2 separate regions of the Homo sapiens genome follow, and region 1 is linked to region 2. The links are contacts of gene promoters, found by promoter capture Hi-C in blood cells and fetal thymus (Javierre and others, 2016). All regions are on one chromosome and are shown on one strand. Each heading gives the region's core, a stretch centred on a gene start or on the middle of the fragment in contact. The rest is flanking DNA. Distances are from core to core; before and after follow the strand shown. Region 1 overlaps SPAG5 (sperm associated antigen 5). Region 2 holds the start of BLTP2 (bridge-like lipid transfer protein family member 2).

Evidence for each region. The method cuts DNA at HindIII sites, captures the fragments that hold promoters and counts their contacts. A CHiCAGO score of 5 or more calls a contact.
Region 1: a fragment that was not itself captured here is called in contact with the fragment with the promoter of BLTP2 in region 2 in 1 of 17 cell types (M1 macrophages); the score reaches 5.6 in M1 macrophages.

The regions. Positions count from the first base shown.
Region 1 is chr17:28,592,674-28,595,373 of GRCh38, forward strand. It overlaps SPAG5 (sperm associated antigen 5), which reads right to left. Exons shown (of 24, transcript NM_006461.4): 3 at 1-393. Among named protein-coding and RNA genes, the nearest start is that of SPAG5, 5.0 kb to the right of the region's middle. The HindIII fragment of the contact is 439 bases long and covers 1,155-1,593 here.
Region 2 is chr17:28,643,859-28,646,722 of GRCh38, forward strand. It overlaps BLTP2 (bridge-like lipid transfer protein family member 2), which reads right to left and starts at 1,300. Exons shown (of 39, transcript NM_014680.5): 1 at 1,131-1,300; 2 at 200-329. The coding sequence starts at 1,198. RefSeq lists silencers at 1,097-1,436, 1,457-1,686. The HindIII fragment of the contact is 8,883 bases long and covers 1-2,864 here.

The DNA of each region.
Region 1 (2,700 bases), core at 124-2,623, 51 kb before region 2:
CTCAGATACAGCAGCAACTTCTGAAAACCTGTCTCCCATGCAGGGTGCCACCTCCTCTCTCACCAGATCGTCTGTTCTCAAAGGTCCATTTAAAGATATGCTGTTTGTCTCTGCCATGGTATCTAAACGGGCCTCAAATATCATGTCTTGTTGCTGCCCCAGTGGAGATGGTACAAGGACGATGGTTTTAACCATATAATTGCCCAGTGGGTCTACTGCTTCCTCAGACGTTTTAGGAGTAGAGCTAATTTGGGGAATTGGATCTAGAGGCTGCTCATCTGATTCATGCTGACAAGTTTCTAGCCACTTTGAGGAATGACTGAAATGTTCTGAAGATAAGTCTGTCCTCTTGTTATTTACAAAATCCACTGGAGATGAGTTGTTGCTGCCTTCCTGCCAAAGGAAACAAAAGTAGTTGTCTAAGGCAGTCAATTCAGTTCCCGACATACAATTACAGGTGCAAGATAGTGCACTCAAAAAAGAAAAGAATTCTTACTACCTCTGCTTAGGTAAGAACTTGGCTAATCTTTGTTGCTCATATAGAGACCCAATAGTAGGGAAAGAAAAGCTGCTAAGCCATTTTGGGTCCTTCCAAGTGAACCAGCCTACATTATAAACAGGCTGAGAATATAGATCCATATCGTGGGCAGATGGTAGCTTGAAAGTGACCCCACTCATCTCCATTCTGAACTCTAACGCACTTCTAGATGAACAGATAGGAGGGGTCCATAGGGTGTGAGTGAAGGCTTAAGCTCTGTCAGAATCTAGAGTTGGTACAAGTTCTTCTCCCTCTCGGCTGGGCGCAGTGGCTCACGCCTGTAATCTCAGCATTTGGGAGGCCACAAGCAGGTGGATCGCTTGAGTTCAAACCTCATCTCTACTAAAAATACAAACATTAGCCGGGCATGGTGGTGCTGATGTGTGCCTGTAGTCCCAGCTACTCAGGAAGCTGAGGTGGGAGGATCACTGAAGCTCAGGGGGCAGAGGTTGCAGTGAGCCAAAATCGTGCCACTGCACTCCAGCCTGGGTGACAGAGCAAAACCCTGTCTCAAAAAAAAATAAATAAATAAATAAAAAAGGTAGACCCTAACAAAACAGAGCTGCTGGAAGACACAGATGATAATCTGAACAACAACAAAAAAAACGAGTACTTAAGCTTTAACTACAACATAAATACACACACAAAGACATTTTAGAAATAATAAATATTATTTTAAATAAAAAATGTCAGTAAAATGAATTGAAAGAGTAAATTATTAGAGTTGAAACTAGAATTACTGGCCTGGACAAGTGGAAGAAATATCTTAAAGCAAAGATAAAAATATAAAGAAATGTAAATCTGAAGAAAAAGCTAAGAGAATTAGAAGATAAACCCAGGATACCTAACAGTTAAATAAAAGAAATTCCAGAAGAGAACATATATACATGAGGCGCTGATTAACAAATATTAGAAGAAAACTACCCTAATGAAAGACCTGAGTTTGCACATTAAAATGGCTCACCAGTTTCTAAGCAGGACTGACTAGAAAAGATACATGCTAGACACATAATTATAAAATTTCTGTGCTACAATGAAGAAAAAACTATTCTGGAAGCTTTAGATAGAAAGTCCAATTATTTATTAAAAAAATAATCAAACAGACCGGGCGCAGTGGCTCACGCCTGTAATCCCAGCACTTTGGGAGGCTGAGGCGGGCGGATCACGAGGTCAGGAGATCGAGACCATCCTGGCTAACACGATGAAACCCCGTCTCTACTAAAAATACAAAAAATTAGCTGGCTGTGGTGGCGGGCACCTGTAGTCCCAGCTATTTGGGAGGCTGAGGCAGGAGAATGGCGTGAACCCGGGAGGTGGAGCTTGCAGTGAGCCAAGATCGTGACACTGCACTCCAGCCTGGGCAACAGAGCGAGACTCCGTCTCAAAAAATAATAATAATAATAATCAAACATATGAAATTTCTCATTTATATTAGTGGATGAAACAAAACCAAGGTTAGGTTAAAAAGGGCTTCTGATATTCTGGTACTGTCCTACTTACTGACCTGGGTATTAGTTACATGGATGTGTACTTTATAGTAATTTGTTATGCTGTTATGTTTTATTGTAATTTCATGTATCTTACTTTAATTTTGAAATTATTAAAAGGTATGATGGCTCACACCTGTAGTCCCAGCTATTCAGGAGGCTGAGGTGGGAGGACTGCTAGAGCTCAGGAGTTCAAGGTTGCAATAAGCCAAGATCACACCACTGCACTCTAGCCTGGGTAACAGAGCAAGACCCTGTCTCAAAAAAAAAAATAAAAAAGACAGGGCATGGTGGCTTACACCTGTAATCCCAGCACTTTGGGAGGCTGAGGCGGTCAGATCACAAGGTCAGGAGTTCGAGTGCAGCTGGGCCAACATGGTGAAACCCCATCTCTACTCAAAATACAAAAATTAGCTGGGCATGGTGGCGGGTGCCTGTAGTCCCAGCTACTCGGGAGGCTGAGGCAGGAGAATCGCTTGAATCTGGGAAGCAGAGGTTGCAGTGAGCCAAGATCGCGGCACTGCACTCCAATCTGGGCGATACAACAAGACTCCTTCTCAAAAAAAAAAAAAAAAAGACAATATAAAGATGAGTGTGTGTGTGTGTGTGTGCATATATACAAAATAGACACACATAAAGAGATGTATGAAAGAACTGTCAAATATGACATTTATC
Region 2 (2,864 bases), core at 50-2,549:
TCTGTGTCCTACAAACATTTTTAACTGAACAACTTGCAGCGTTCTCCAACTAGCTCTAAGATCATCTTGGCAAAGAAATGGCAAGGCTGGGATTAACTAGAAAAGCCACCAGGATTTCTATTTTTAAAAAAAGGAAATTAAGAGTTTAAATTCAATTGGATCAACCCTACACACATATCCAGAGTTTCCCAGAACTCACCACTGTTTGCTGGTGTTGCTGAAACTTAAGACTGACATTCTGGATCCAAAAAAAGCGGAAGGAGCCAATCTTTAGCTCCGCCTGCAGCTTCCGCTGACACCACTTGGTGGCCAACCGGACCACAAGCCACCTGCAGAAAAATTCCTGTTAATTCATAGGACCTTTTTCCAATGATGGTTTCCCTCACCCCTTGCTGGTCTTTCAAAGCCTTGCAAAAGGTCGTTCCTGAAACTGGATCTGAGCAACTCTCCTTTCTTCCAAAGCACCACTCTGTCATATACATTCAGCCACGCTGATCAAGATCCTAGCTCCCGACTGACCCCTCCACCCAGATGAAACCAGAAACTGCACCCTCTAAGTTGAAGACAAAAACAAAATCCCTCAAATTGTTATGAATCCCAGAGGCAGAGAGAGAAGACCCCAGCAAGAGTCAAAGCGGAGGCGGCTCTGTCACATGTGCCATCACACTCCCCAGAGGGTCTGTCTGTCTCCTGCTCCCACCCTCCAGACAGGTATCCACGAGAAGGCACTTTGAGGTCAGACCCGGCAGCTCGAATGCTGTTCTCCCCAGACCGATGCTGCAGGTGCCCATCGCGCTTGGCGAAAGGGACATGCAGGGGTGGGTGGAGGGGGAAAGGGAAGCCACTGAACCAGGCCCCTTCCTCACACTCCTATTCAGTTCCTGGCCTCAGCATTTCCTCAGACCCCGCCCGCTTCCTCAGTCTCCCCAACTCGCAGCCCATCCCTGGGAGCTCGGGCCACGCGCCTCCTCACGATCCCTCCCCTCGCCGCGCGCCCCCTCCCTCCACCCTACCCACTCTGCCTCACGCGCCTCAGTAAGGCGCGCGCCCCCTCCTCAGTCTTTCTTCCTCCTCTCCGCCCCCTCCCTCCCGCCGCCGCCGCCGCCGCCGGCGCGGCCGGGAACCCTCACCGGCCTAGAAAGAGGGCGCTAAGCGCAACTAGCAGCAAGACCAACAGCGCGGAGAAGAACAGAGGCATTTAGGTCCGGGTCCGGCCCGGCTTGGCCCCGGCCCCCGCCATGCCGGGCCCCGACGCCGGATCCGCGCAGCACCGCCGCGGGCCGACCAGCTGCGCGCGCAGGAGCAACGCTGAGCGAGGACGCGCTGGTGCGCACACGAGCCCCGCCTTCCGCAGCCCGCCAGCCAACCAACGGCCTCCCACCCCAGTCCCGCCCTGTCCTACGACGCTGCAGGGCCGACGGGCTGCGTGCGCGAGGAGCGGGCGTGGTTCCGGGAGGAGGGCGAGGGGGAGCGGACCAAGAGCTGAAACACGCCCCGGGCGCACACCACGGTGCCCGGAACCGCGGGGCTCGGGGACCCGCGGGGGTCGGAGTCCGGGCCCACTACCTGGGCTGGCGGTGGACCTGGCTGACTCATTTCGGTCCGGGGAGCTCACTTTGAGGGGAGTTGGAGTCCGCCTAGCCACTTAGGCCTGGACTCAGGGTTCTGCGGAAGTTACACCCCTGGTCAGACGTGGTAGCACTCCCATCTTATTCAAGATCCTGTTTGAAAATTACTGAGGCAGAAACTAGGAGGTAATTAAAAGGCCTCAAAAATCTCGCCTCATTCCATCCACAGAGGAAACTAATGAGGTTTTGTTTTTTTTTTCTTTGAGACAAGGACTCGCTACGTTGCCCAGTCTGGTCTCGAACTCCTGCAGGCTCAAGGGATCCTCCTGCCTCAGCCTCCTGAGTAGCTTGGACTAAAGACGCGTGTCACGGTTCCTGGCCAATGAGTTTTTACTTCATTTACTGTTTGAACACTGTTCTGGTCCATCTACTTATGGCACGAACTGGGCCCTGATGGAGGAGAGGAGGAGATACTGCAGAAGTAGTGAATATTGTTCTTGCCCTTTAGCAAAAAATAGTTTATCTGGGAAGCAAACATAATTACATAAAGTAGACAATACATAGTCAGTTTTGCCTGCTTCCTTCTGTGTAGTTTATCTGGGAAGCAAACATAATTACATAAAATAGACAATACATAGTTTTGCCTGCTTCCTTCTCTGTAAAATGAGAGAACAGGACAAAGGTCCCTCAGCGTTACTGTGCTAAGGATCAGTATCTGAATGATGATCTACTGATACAGCACAAGCTAAGGAAATCCTGACGGTTTCAAAATAAGTATTATGGAGGAGGTCATGTCTCTTTTCATACCCCTTCGCTCCCACGTCCTAATCTCCATATATATCCTTCAAGATTTTACTCAGAGCCTCTCTTTTTGGCTCCCTCAGATAAAACACCATTTCATCTTTCACCTGTGTGTTGCCCGAAGTTGCTTTCACTCCTCTGATTGTTTCCTCCCTTATCTATTCCTCTCTTCAGTGATTTCACATCTCCCCAAGAGCTCCAGCGCTGCTGTTTCAAGGTCATACTTACCTCTCAAGCACTGTATTTGCGTCATCTTCCTCGTCATCTGCAGCCTTCCCCCAGGGTATGTCCTCCGAATGCTCTGGGAAGGCCCAATTCACTGAAAACCTCTGTCCAAGTCAAGGAGGGGTGCCGTGCAACACGTATCCCTACTCTGGTTCATCTTATCCAATCTGTTTATTGAACCAAGATTCCTGTCACTTCCTTCCTTCTCCCTTGACTATTACCGGCCCTACTCCCAGCCATCTCATAGCCTAAAATGTTGATTTTATGATT